Regions from separate parts of the Homo sapiens genome. Here region 2 is linked to region 1. The links are contacts of gene promoters, found by promoter capture Hi-C in blood cells and fetal thymus (Javierre and others, 2016). All regions are on one chromosome and are shown on one strand. Each heading gives the region's core, a stretch centred on a gene start or on the middle of the fragment in contact. The rest is flanking DNA. Distances are from core to core; before and after follow the strand shown. Region 1 holds the start of DNAJC3 (DnaJ heat shock protein family (Hsp40) member C3). Region 2 overlaps BIVM-ERCC5 (BIVM-ERCC5 readthrough).

What was found. Contacts are between HindIII fragments. The CHiCAGO score rates a contact against its expected background, and 5 or more counts as called.
Region 2: a contact is called between a fragment that was not itself captured here and the fragment with the promoter of DNAJC3 in region 1, in 1 of 17 cell types (non-activated CD4 T cells). The highest score is 5.3, in non-activated CD4 T cells.

What each region holds. Positions count from the first base shown.
Region 1 is chr13:95,671,724-95,678,402 of GRCh38, forward strand. DNAJC3 (DnaJ heat shock protein family (Hsp40) member C3) reads left to right here and starts at 5,416. Exons shown (of 12, transcript NM_006260.5): 1 at 5,416-5,614. The coding sequence starts at 5,533. DNAJC3-DT (DNAJC3 divergent transcript) reads right to left here and starts at 5,202. Exons shown (of 2, transcript NR_132117.1): 1 at 4,129-5,202; 2 at 1,112-2,945. RefSeq lists enhancers at 4,506-5,353, 4,617-4,716, 5,354-6,200, 5,547-5,596 and silencers at 5,237-5,476, 5,707-5,796. The HindIII fragment of the contact is 3,320 bases long and covers 3,564-6,679 here.
Region 2 is chr13:102,850,270-102,857,362 of GRCh38, forward strand. BIVM-ERCC5 (BIVM-ERCC5 readthrough) reads left to right here. Exons shown (of 23, transcript NM_001204425.2): 10 at 1,849-2,024; 11 at 3,488-3,603; 12 at 4,019-4,105; 13 at 5,783-5,843. It overlaps ERCC5 (ERCC excision repair 5, endonuclease), which reads left to right. Exons shown (of 15, transcript NM_000123.4): 2 at 1,849-2,024; 3 at 3,488-3,603; 4 at 4,019-4,105; 5 at 5,783-5,843. Among named protein-coding and RNA genes, the nearest start is that of ERCC5, 7.8 kb to the left of the region's middle. The HindIII fragment of the contact is 2,954 bases long and covers 245-3,198 here.

The sequences.
Region 1 (6,679 bases), core at 4,166-6,665:
TGATACAAGCACGCCGCATTGGCCACCCTGCCTAGTGTCTCACTAGGTCACATAGCCCCCAAGTCCATTGGCTCTAAGCCCAGCACAGCAAGAGGACTTGCCTAGGAGTTGCAGTGCTTGTGGCCTAGGTTACCTTTCAAGTTTATTTTAAACCTCAGAGCTCTTTAGCCCACGGTGGTGAGGTTTGCCAAAACTGAAGTTCTGACTGCTGGAACGGACGATTCCCCTCTGGCTAAAGCTGATCTAAATGCTCCCTCCATGGGTGTTGGCAGCACTAAGTTTCAAGGCAAAGGCCCATAATTACTGTCCTTTCTCCTTCCACAAATGTACAAATTCTCTCTCAGTGCCACACAGTCACTGCCAGGGGATAGGGGAGGGGTGATGTTGGCAATTCAAGACTGCCTTTCCTACTCTCTTCAACGCCTCTGTCAGCAATATGCAGTTAAAACCAGGTACTGTGATTGTTCGCCTGATTTTTGGTTCTTATGAAGGTGCTTTTTTTGTGTAAATAGTTGTCAAAGTTGGTGTTCCTGTGGGGATGATGATCGGTGGAGGCTTCTATTTGGCTATCTTGCTCTGTCTTCCTCATGTTATTTTCAAAATCCATTTTGATTATGTCGTTTAATTATTGTGTTTATAACATTTATATTTAATGCAATTGTGTTTATATGTTTGGATTTAGATGTGAGAATCTGGAAAATAATAAGTTCTTATATTTGTGTTATTACAAAAATTTTATAAGATCAAACCTATTTAAAGACATGTCATTATGTCACTTAATTTAGAAATTAGAAAGCTTAAATTTTGAAGAGTTTACCCATTGTATATAAAATATAATATTGTACTTAGTTAATTTCTTATAAAATCAGAAGATATATAGCTGCCTTTAAATTAGTATTAACACATTCCAGTGATCAAAGATTCATCTATTTATCGGAAACAGTACATGAATCTTTTAAAATACAATTTTTACACTTTGTAGTCCAGAATTGTAATGTTAAAGACTCTTTAAATCACACTTCAAAACTTTTAGCTCATAATTATAATAACACAACCTATTATTTAAATGCACTCACTCACATTTTAAAAATAAAAAATACAGTGAACAGCATTTTTCTTTTAGATATTTTACTAGATTGTTTGGACTAGAATATAACTAGAATGTGTATGTAGCAATAGACATTTTAAAAACTCAAATAACCTACAATTTTCAAACTGAGAGAAAAAGAAGAACATCAAAAAGAGGAGAAAAGAGCTGGCTTAGGCAACTGTTATCTCTGTAAAGGGCTAATTCTCTTTCTTCTGCAAGGAAAGGAGATAAAATTCGATGCAGAAAAACTCATCTGTACACAAATACACAAAAGAGAGTCACTGCAGTTGATTTAAAAATACTCAGGCCCTTCACAATATTTTAAATAAACTTCTATTGCTGAAACAACTTTCAAGTAAGGGCATAAGGATAATACAGGGAGGTCCCAAATACCCCTTATTTTTCTGTATTGTTAGCATCTTGCATAACCATGGTACATTTGTCAAAACTAAGAAAGTAATAATGGTACACTACTATTAAACTTGAGACTATTCATATTTCAGTAGTTTTTCCACTAATGTCTATTTTCTCTAGGATCCAGTTCAACACAGCACACTGCATTCAGTCATCAATTAAGTTTCCTTAGTTTCCTCTGGTCTGTTACAGTATTTCAATCTTTCCTTGTTCCCCACGACGTTGATAGTTTTGAGGAATACTGATCAGGTGTTTTATAGAATGTCCTTCAATTTTAGTTTGATTTTTTTTTTTTCATGTTTAGACTAGATTGGGTTATAGGTTTTGAGAATACCACAGAGGTGAATTGCCCTTCTCATCACAGTATATTGGGAGTATATGCTATCAACATGACTTGATGATATTAACTTTGACCACCTGGCCAAGACAGTGTTTCCAGGTTTCTGTACTATGAAGTTACTCTCCTCCTCCCTTTCCATACTCTGTTCTTTGGAAGTTAGTCACTAAGTCCAGCCCACACTCAAGGAAGGAGGGAAAATAAGCTCCACCTGATGAAGGGGGACGTATTGTGTTAAGCTGAATAACGGTCCCCCAAATATGTTTACATTCTAATCTCCTGTCATTGTTCTATAGCAAAAGGCAGTTTTTGCAGATGTGATTAAATTGAGGAACTTGAGTAGGAAGAATATCCTGGATTATCTCAGCAGGCCCAATATAATTAATTACAAGGATCCTTGTAAGACGGAGGCAAGGTCAAAAATGACAGAAGGTGATGTGAATACAAAAGCGGAGATTATAGTCATGCGGCCAGAAGCCAAAAAACAACATAAAAGAGGGTGGAAAGCAGAGAAGACAAGATGTGATATAAAAGCCAAATTTTATATGAAGGTACCAAAATTTGATCAGAATCCCAAAATCCTTGAAAATAAACTGTAAATTTGACATATAAGGGTCATTTTTTGTTCCTCAGATTGGCAAAAACTGAAAATCAATTATATCTAGTGATGGTGACTAGGCAGGAATATAAACAGCTGATAGGAATAGAAATTATTCCTTTAGGGAAAGATAATCTGACAACGCATCTTAAAAGTTTAAACAAATTCTTTGATTAAGCAAGTTCAAAAACCTAGTTTTTTTTTTTTTTTTTTTTATAAAGTGTCACTCTGTTGCTCAGTCTGGAGTGCAGTGACATGATCTTAGCTCACTGCAACCTCAAACTCCTGGGTTGAAGCAATCCTCTGCCTCAGTCTCCCTGAGTAGCTAGGGCAACAGGCACGAGCCACCGCACCTGGCTAGTTTTAAATTTTTTTGCAGAGACAGGATCCTGCTATGTTGCTCAGGCTGGTCGCAAACTCCCGGCCTCAAATAATCCTCCCATCTTGGCTTCCCAAAGCGCTAGCATTACAGGTGTGAGCCACTGCGCCCAGCCTAGAAATGTTTCCTAGAAATAAAAGCACAAGTTTGTAAACATAAATGTGGAAGGATGTATATGGTGGCATTAACTTAATGCTGACTTTTTTGTTCTTAATTTGGCACAAAAAGGTGTTTATAAGTGCTCTACTTGTTTCTGAACATTTATTTCTCCTCATAGTTAATTCCTAAACAAATCTTATTCCCTTTACCTACAAAATATGTTCTAGATCTGTTCACTCCTCTCTACCAACATTGTTTTTCCTAGTCAATAAACATAGATCAACCTAATAAAAATTGCATAATACTCTTAATTTTGGATATATCATAAATATGCTACCATTGTTTTTTAAGTCTTTTGCTACTATAATTAACAGTATGAATTACAGTGGAGATTTAATGTTTAACTTCAAAAAGACTCCATAGAGTCTGACGAATGCAAACATATTTACAGTAACTTTTCTTACACTCACTAGATTACTTTGATTTTCGGTTTTATTGGCAAGAGTGATTCGTGAAAACCATGACTAGATGAACATTGGAGGAAACATTCCCAAGCATTAATCACTTAATTTTAGTTTTGTACATTTTTTTCTGTCTAATGTTACCTTTGTTGTAAAATTATCTTTTTTTAAGGAATGCTTTGTAAAGCTTAGTTCTAATATTACAGAATTCATAGTTATGTAATTAATCTCAAAATCACTCACCATTGAAGACCCTTGCTATTTTTATTTCCTATAACACGAAGTCTATTATCTCCTTAATAATTTTTAATTTCCATCCTTAGAACTTCTTCAGCTCTGCTACTTTTTCCTTAAGGCCAGGGTCATAGGCAGCACACTGGTGATAACTCACTGTCTAGAAATATTGCATTTTGTTTACAAAGTTATTTTCTATGTTCAGCATTTTGCTGGCTGCCTTGGGTACAGTACCTCAATTGAATGTCTACACCTGCATATTTGTGGACATTGAAATCATCTACCATTTTTCAGAGACACTACCTTGTGATATAAAAAAACAGAAGCCAAAAAAAAAAAAATCCCAAGGAATTTCTGAAGGAGCCTCTCTTCACTACTCTGCTCTTGTTAGAATAATGAGTAACACTGGTATAACATTCTACAATTTACAAGAATATTTATCTGCTTCATGAAACCTCAAAACAAACCTTTGAGACTATCAGGATCCTAACCACTTTACAGATGAAGATAACTTACATAATAGTTATGGGGTTTCCTGGATCTGACTCCTTTATTCTTCACATTACATTATGTTGCCTTCCCCACAACTAATCAAGGACTCCGTTTTTTCTTTTTTCTTTCTCGAAACCATTTCCTCCATATTAGTTCCCTTTGGAATAGAAGCCTTTTTAAAAGTCCACCTTAGTATATCTTCAGGGAATCACAAATTCACTATGCTATTTATAATTCATGAGTTTCTCTAATGGTATCAAGGCAGCAAATACAGGTGAAGTAATAATTATCCACCTGATAGTACTTAACACACATACCCCGTGTAAAAATACTGCTGGTGTACAGTGTGTGTGTTGGTGACGCCGGAGGAAGTGGCCGTGAACAGGCTTAATGCCGCATTGAGTAACTTCAACCTCATCTTGCTCAGGTTCATATCTCTCCTGAATTTCCCCTGGTAAGCGCAAGATTCAGGATCCGTTCTCACAGTTTTTTGTTTACCAGTTGATGTTGGCTGCATTCAGGAACGCCTTGCTCTCTTAAGCCACAGTGCCTTCCTGGTCTCTTCTTCACAGGGTCTTCCACAATCGCTCTTTTTCCTGGGCACGGTGGTTTGCTGAAAGTCGGGGTGGGGGGCGGGGCGTTCCCAAGTTTCCAGGCCAATTACCTACCTGCCTTAGAGCAATTACGCACTTCTCTCTGGTAGTCCCTGAAATGTTCTAATCATCAGATCGCCCCAGCTTCTCCTGACCGTTTCTTGCTTACGGCTCAGTTCAGACAGTATTTGTTCCGGGACGCTCAGCGGGAGGCGGTTTTTACCGGCTCACTCGAGACCCCAATTCCAGGCGCCCTGCAGCTTCCCTCAGACTCCCCGGGACCGTGTTTGGCCTTCCCATTCGTACGCTGCGGCTGCGCTTTCCTCTCGTAACACCACGCTGGCGAACCTGGAAAGGATCAAATAGTCCCACTCGCCAACCTAGCGCGGCGGGACCGGCCCAAAAGGGCCTTTGCAGCCTGCGCATGCGGACTCGGCGGCCGCCACCGACTCCCCGTCTGCTTCCCTCCGGGCGGCAGCCGCGGTTTGGAGCTTGCTGACAGCTCTGCGACCGGCGGGCGCAGCCTCGTCTCGTGCTTCCACGTTATCCTATCAGGGACGGGGCGGGGCGGCGGCCTCCGCAGCCTATCAGCGCGAACCACGACCCCGGCGAGCCCGGGAGGAAAGCCGCCAGAAAGAAGGCGATTGGATGGCGGCGGCGCTCTGGGGCGTAGCGTCGCCCGGGCCCCGCCCACCGCTGCCTTCCTCTGCTGGGCTCCAGAGCCACTGAGGCCTGAGCGAGAGCCGACGGCGGGCGGGCGCAGCTGCTGCCGGAGCGCCGGCGCGTGCTGGTGGGCCACACACCTTTCCTCCTCTTCACTCGCGAGCCCTCGGACATGGTGGCCCCCGGCTCCGTGACCAGCCGGCTGGGCTCGGTATTCCCCTTCCTGCTAGTCCTGGTGGATCTGCAGTACGAAGGTGAGTCCTGCCCTGCCCCGGCCAGGAAGTGGGCTCCCGGACCAGGCCCCCCGCGCTTTCCCGTCTGCGCCCGGGCGCCTGTCCCGGAGCGGCTCGGGAGGTGGGGCGAGCGCTGGGGGAGCCCGCGGCCTGGCTTGGGCCTGAGCCCGCGCCCGGTTCCGGGTTTGTCTGGGGAAGAATCGAGGGGACTGGCGGGCCGCGGGGCCGGGACAGCGGGTTTGGACTAAGGAACCGGGCCGCAGGAGTCGGAGGAGGCGGGGTGCGGGGGCACCGGGCTACGACTTCAGGAAGTCCTGGGACGCGGAGACTTGGGCAGCCTTTGGGTCCTGGCCTCGCTTGGGACCCTCGCTGGGCGCCTGGGGACACTGTCAGTCATTGGTGCTGGCTGGGAGGAGGCACTAAGGTGGCCAAAAGACTTCCTTCGCTCTGGAGTTCTTGGGTGGGGAAGGAGTGTCATGTCCGGCTGGGAGTTGGAGGGGACAGTGTTGACTATTTAAAAAGTGTGTAACCATCCCCATTAAGATGCACTGTCGTGTAGAGAAATTGTTAGTTTGGTGCAATGAGGAGCCGCTGTTGGAATTCCATCTCCCGGACGGCCAGGCACTGAGTTTGTGGTTTTACAACTCCCAACATGGTGTCATTCAACGTATGGCTGGCATTACTTTTCCAAGTTCGCTGTAAAAAGGTTCCCTTAAAAAGATACGAACGATTAAATTTCACTTCAGTCCTGCAGACTGGAATGTTGGCTACTCCAGAATAGCGAAAATAGAGGGCTGTCCTATCTTAGATGGCAGCGGGGAGGAGTAAGAATTAAAGTTGATAGTGCCGATTTAACGAATGCTTCTGGCGCGGTTACTGTGCGAAATATTCGAGTGTAATGACACATCACATGCACTGATCTATTTTCATCCCCATAAAAAGGGCTAGTTGTCAAGGAGGTCAAATTAAACCTTTGAGTATTCCATTCAAAGGGAGCGAGGAACTAAAAATTGGGAATTGTTTATAGTGAATTCTTCTGAAAGTTCTCAACTTTTTTTTTTAAAGTAGTACTCCCCAGTTTTTAGG
Region 2 (7,093 bases), core at 472-2,971, 7.2 Mb after region 1:
CATCTAGACTGAGGAGGGGACCCCTGGACTGAGACCTTAGAGTAGGAGAGAACTAGGCGGAGAGAGGGAGAAACTGTTTCAGGCAGAGGAAGCAGCATGTGAGAAGAACCTGGAGGCAGGAAGGAGCTTAGTGATTTCTGGGTTTGAGGAAAGCCCAGTAGCAGGAAGTGAGCAGAGGCCAGATCATTCAAGGCTTCCTAGACCAGGAGAAGAAGTTTTAGATAGTATCTTGAAGGCAGTGGGAAGCTTTGGAGGGTTTTCACCAAAGATACGTTGGTGAAATCTAGTATATACCTTCAAGATACATTAGAAGATAGAATTGATAGACCTGGTAATAGCTATAGGTGGTGATGCCCAGCATTCTGGCTCAGGTGAATGGCAGGGACATTCACTGAGATGGGGGCATGAGCAGCTGAGTGGAGAAGACATGGAGTTCAGTTTTGATCATGTTAAGTTTGAAATGTCTATGAGGTATGGGGTAGAGACGTCATCTGGGCTCTCTGTTCTGGGGTCAGGAGCGTGCTCTGGGCCAGACATATACATGGAGTCAGGGCGTGGTGTATGTGGAGGGGAGTGGAGGTTGATAGTTCAGACAGGAGGAAAGAAGAGGGCCTGAGAAAGATCACTGATGAAGTGAATACTTTAACAGTGTTACAGGAGCTGGCAAAGAGTCTGAGAGCAGGAAAACCAGCAGAGCGCGGTGTCACTCTTTCTTTTGGACAAATATAACATTTTTTGAGAAGCACTTTTTAGAAAAGTTTAAAAATATAAGAAAACTTCAAGATGAAAATATAAGTTATCTTTAGTCTCAGCAGACATAATATCTACTTTAATATTTTGGTATGTGAACTAGTTTTTTATATTTAACATATATACTGTATCAGAAAATGGAGTTATACTTTATATGGTTTTATAGCCTGTTTTACTATCTTTAATAATATTTAATGACTATCTTCCTTATCACACATGCTCCTGCAACTTCCATTTTTAAGGGCTTTTTGGTATTCCAGCAAATAGGTCTGCCATAATTAGTTTTTCTTTTTTGAGACGGAGTCTTGCTCTGTCACCAGGCTGGAGTGCAGTGGCGCGATCTCGGCTCACTGCAACCTCTGCCTCCTGGGTTCAAGCGATTCTCCTGCCTCAGCCTCCTGAGTAGCTGGGACTACAGGTGCGCACCACCATGCCCAGCCAATTTTTGTATTTTTAGTAGAGATGGGGTTTCACCATGTTGGCCAGGATGGTCTCGATCTCTTGATCTCGTGATCCACCTGCCTCGGCCTCCCAAAGTGCTGGGATTACAGGTGTGAGCCACCGCGCCCGGCCTATGATTAGTTTTTTAAAAAGACCTGCTGGAAAACTTTTAAGTTGATTTTTATATTTTCATTATTATAAACAAGCATTCTGTAAATAACTCTCATTATATATCCATGATGATTTTCTGAGGATCAATGTCTGGAAGTGGTAAAATAGACTGCAAAGTTTTAAAAAGTTTTTTTCACTATGAATTGTCAAATTGTCCTCCAGAAAATTTGTGCTAATTCATGAAAATTCTTTAGCAATCACTTATTTTTTTTTAAAGAAGCAATTCTTTGCAATGAGACTTCTTAAAAGGATATGTCTGTCTTTGTATGATTTTAAAATGCAGTATGTGAATAGGGGTAACAAGAGTTCAACTAAAAGTTAACTGACTTTAGGTAGATCCCATGAGAGCTAAATGTTTTTCAATTTTAAATGAATAGTGATAAGTATTTAGTGTTCAACGTTTGGATAATATCAGTTATTAGGAAATTGAAGTTGTGAGGATGAAGAGAAAAATCCCGGAGTTTTTTCCATTAACAATTCTCCCAGATATTAGCATTTGGTTAAACCAAGCACTTAAAGGAGTCCGGGATCGCCATGGGAACTCAATAGAAAATCCTCATCTTCTCACTTTGTTTCATCGGCTCTGCAAACTCTTATTTTTTCGAATTCGTCCTATTTTTGTGTTTGATGGGGATGCTCCACTATTGAAGAAACAGACTTTGGTAAGTGTCGTATAGTTTTTAGTAAGTGTCAAATAATTTTTTTCTTTCTGCATTCTTAGAAAAATTCACATAAAATTTTTGTTTTCTCTTTAGAATTTTAGAAACAGACTTATTTTGACACATACTTAATTACATCTACTTTTTTATCTTGAACAATTAATTTTTCTTTTAAAAAGTTTTATGAGAGTTCATCATGGGTACAATGATAAAATTTAACTTTTAAATAAAACTAACTACTAAAAACCTTGCTGTTGAGAGTTTTCCCTTCAGAGGATCTTGTTAGGTGTTTTATATTTATTTCAAGGATGCGGCCATCACTCAGAACACTGTGGAAACCCTCTTTTGGGAAGTGCCTCCCTGAATCTGAGATCAAGTATCCTCCGTGATAGCAAGCCTTCTTTTAAGGGGAATTGGATTTTAGGAGTAAGCAATGTTATGTGGTGCCAAGTGGTGACTAAAGTGGATTATCTAGGAAGGAAATTGACCATGATATAGAAGAGTCAGAATGAGTTGCTGCTTTATTGTTCTGGAAGTAGTTTTAAAAAATGTTTTTGGAAGGCCGGGGGCAGGAGGATTGCTTGAGCCCAAGTCCAGCCTGGGCAACACAGGGAGACCCCATCTCTAAAAAAATGACATAAAATAATGTTTAAACAGTCCAAATGACAGCACCCATTTGGATATATGACTTTTATTTGTTGAAAATACCAAAGTAATGAAATGATGACTTTGTAATCATACCAGATACTCTCTAAATGAGGATATAGGATAAAAGTAAGGATATAGGATAAAAATAAAAAGCATTTATAAATGCTGGGGGACCTTTGTTGCCTCAGTAAGAGTGTCTAGTCTTGAATGTTGCAGTTTTCAGTTACCCAAGGCATACTGTAAATCAGGTACTTTGTGGAAGGATTAGAAAGGAAAAGAGAATATCTTGGTTATTTTTATCCGATATTCAGCCATAAGCACAGGGACTATCCATTTGTCACTACTTGAACATTTCTTACAAGATATTTCTATACATTTTAGAATTTCTCATGATATATAATCTTGAATATTGAAGGGCAGAATTACATGTAAGTAATGCATGTTTATAAAAAGCAATATTAGAAATTGTTTTTGGTGTCACTGTGACATTTTATAGAATAAATAAATAATTTCTTTTGGGAAGCATTTAAGCTTTCCACTTCTTGGGCATATTAAAAGACATTTAAAAGAAACTGAAAGTAAATTAAGTTTCCCAAATATATTGTGTAGTAGCCCATTAAGTAATAGATGGAAACTCTGGGTGTCCTTTACGTAGCAGCAACCTGAAGATATACACTGATATGGCAATTAGGAGGAAATGCTAAAGCAGCCATAGTCTGAAAACTCAGACAAACCAAATTCTCTGGAAAATAAATCACAGCAATGTTTCTAGTGGTCTAATATCCTGAAGTGAGATCTTACATCCTTTCTTCTCATAGGTGAAGAGAAGGCAGAGAAAGGACTTAGCGTCCAGTGACTCCAGGAAAACGACAGAGAAGCTTCTGAAAACATTTTTGAAAAGACAAGCCATCAAAACTGCCTTCAGAAGCAAAAGGCAAGAGGAAAATTATAGTCGTGTTAGAGATGAAGTTTTAAAAAAGTGATTTTTGTCTTGATTTCCTGCGATTCTCTTTCCCTATCTAATTTTGACTCTCAACAGAAAATAGAGAGTGAAATGAGACAAGTAGGCTGCCATTTTGACCTGGTAATTTGGAGTTGTGGCAATTCTCCGTTCTGTGAGAATCAACTTTGCTAATGAGAAAAAAAAGCTGTCGTGTTGCGTCATGTACACTTTTTACTTTGATTATGGTCTTCTTGACTCTAGGTGAGCAGCCCCGCCAAGGTTCCTTCCTTTCTCTCGGCTGCATTTATTTTCCACAGCAGTGGCCTGAGAGCAGCCAGGTCAGGTCCCTGTTCACCATCCTGAGCAGGGTCTGCATAATCTGTTTAAAGATTTGTGTACTTTCCAGAGATGAAGCACTACCCAGTCTTACCCAAGTTCGAAGAGAAAACGACCTCTATGTTTTGCCTCCTTTACAAGAGGAAGAAAAACACAGGTAAATGTTTAACTATTTAAGAATATTATTTTAGTCATTGCTACATTCAGACACATTTAAACCTTGATGTGTTATCTACATGATAAGGCATGTGAACATTTCTTAATGCATCTGAAATAGGCATGCTCTATACCTTTCAGAATATTTTTCAAAGACTAAATTTTTTATTTACTATTCTTTGTGTTTTGGTGATTCATGATTCTTATTCCTCTTCATTCTAAAGAACTTCTGCCAGGGCTGTGGATTCTAAATTCTCCAAGGCATGAATTTTAGTTTTGCTTACACTTTGCTTACACATGCTGTCTCTAGCTGCTTTTCAATCCAGTATGGTCTCTCTCACCATGATGCTAAAATACCACAACCCATGACATTCTTGTTGCTAAATCTAGCAGACGCTTTGCACGTCTTAGTGTGCTCGACTTCTCTGCACTAAACACCATGCCACACTGCCCCGCTCCCCCGGCATCTCTCTGGCGCTTTCTGCTCAGCCTCTCTGTGGACTCCTCTTCCTCTGTCTCTCTCTTAATGGTTGGTGGTTTCTGTGTTTGAAGTGAAGGTGGAGAACCGGAAGCTTGGCAGTTTGCCTTTGTCCCCTGTCCTTCCCTCCACCTCTTCCTTTCCCAGGAGTTCCCAAGAGACAACTTAGCTTTTGTATCAGCTCAGTTCTATTTGTCTCCATTGCTACCACTGTCATTTTTTCTCCAGGTTACATTATTAGCTTTTAAACTTCTTTCTGTCTTTGTCTTTGATCATACCCTTTTTGTAATAGTTCCTCCCACCAAGCCCAATCTCTGTTTTGTGTTATAGTCTGTTTAAAATCCAAATCTGATATTGTCATTTCCTTACTTAAAACACTTTCTAGCTTCTCCTTCTCATTTTTTTCTTTCTTTTTTTTTTGAGATGGAGTCTCTGTTGCCCAGACTGGAGTGCAGTGGCACAATCTCAGCTCACTGCAACCCCTGCCTCCTGGGTTTAAGCGATTCTCCTGCCTCAGCCTCCGGAGTAGCTGGGATTACAGGCACGTGCCACCACACCTGGCTAATTTTTTGTATTTTTAGTAGAGACGAGGTTTCACCATGTTGTCCAGGCTGGTCTCGAACTCCTGACCTCAAGTGATCCACCTGCCTCGGCCTCCCAAAGTGCTGGGATTGCAGGCGTGAGCCACCACACGCAGCTTAGCTTCTCATTTCTTTAGGATAAAACTTTAACTCCTTAATTACACTTTCCAGTCTTATCCCTGCCTTTCTTCACATCATCCACAGGCAGGCTTTCTTTTCCTTGTTTCTATATGGTCATACAACTTAGTTCTTTTGCCTGGAACACTCTTCTCCATGAACCTTCCCGCTCCCTACAACTACACTCATTAATTCGTGGCTAACTCCAACCAGTGTAATTGCAGGAGATCCTGGAAAGCTTTTGTGACTCCTAAATTGGGTGAGGTGACTCCCTATTGCATCTCTAGTGACCTGCCCTTCCCTTGTGGTGGAAGTTATTAGATCCCACTCTAATTGCTTACTTACACGTGTCCCCCACCAGACCATGAGACCAGTAGTGGCACAGATCTTGCTGTTTTATTCACCACTGTAGCCCGTATAACGAGCAGAGCCTTGCATACAAGTATTTTTGTAAGGGGTCCTTAAAAATCATAGATATCGTAAAAGTATGTTTGACTTTCAGTTCAGAAGAGGAAGATGAAAAAGAATGGCAAGAAAGAATGAATCAAAAACAAGCATTACAGGTATTTAGATCATTTTTGAATTCAGAATGTATTCTGTTATTTGAAATGAATGACATGAAAATGAATATTAATGAGGTATATCAAACTGTGAAAGTTCCTGATAAAAAGTAAAGACAGATGGCTTTTTGGTTGTGCATATATATGTGTACATGTATGTATTTAAAACACACTCACCTACACACGTGTATATATATATATATGGAATTTGCCATTATGCACATCTATATATTCAAAACAAGCTATTTTTCTTTTACAACCAACCAACCAATAGTAATATGTGCTTACATAGAAAATATAGAAAACATATCATTCATAAATAACTTGTAATAACAGTTTGATATATTTTCATCCATTCTTTGCCTGCCCCATATAGTTGAATATCTGTGTGTGTATTTGTATATATGTATCAAATGTGCATGTGTACATATATATGTGTACACATATGTGTGTATGTTCTAGTTATCTGTCGCTGTGTAACTTAGTGGTTAAAACATCATTTGTTATCGTCATCTGTCTGGGTTCCAGGGGTAGATGAGCTCAGACAGGCAGTTCTCTCTGGGGTCTCTTGTGTAGATGCAGCCAGTCTGTAGCTGGGGCTGGAGTGATTAACGAGGTTTCCTTGCTGCCATGGGCGGTGGTTGATGCTGGCTGTCAGCCAGTCTTCCATGCGGCCAGCACCAGAGCACCTACTTGTGGCCTCTCCACGTGGCCTGGGCATTTTCCCAGCATGATGACTGTATTCCCAGTGTGGGCATCCCAAGAGAAAGTTCTAAGCAGAAGCCCTGTTGCCTTTCTGACCTAGCTTTGGAAGTTGTGCAGCATCCTTCCCACTACATCCTGTTCCTCAGAAGCTAGTTACTGCCCTATGGAAGGGGCAGAGAGTTAGACAAGAAGAATGTCCCACACATATTTTCATGAATAACATTTTTACAAATTGAGATTATGCTGTATATATACATTTTTTTCATAAACATTTTTCAAGTTTCTTAGTGTCACAGATAGCATTTTTTGATTCCCAAATTCACTGTTTCTTGTTTGTTCATATGGTTTTGTTCTATCAGGTAGAAACTTTTGAGCTAAAACCTCGAGATCCTTCAGGTTGCGGAGGTGCTGTGCTATTAATGCAGCTAGTGAGAGCAATCTTAGTTAAGACCATGGGCCTCGTGGTCAAAAAGACCTGCGTTTCAGTCCAGGCTCCACTGTTCACTAGCTGTGTGATCTTACACAGATTAAATTCTCCAAGGCTTTAT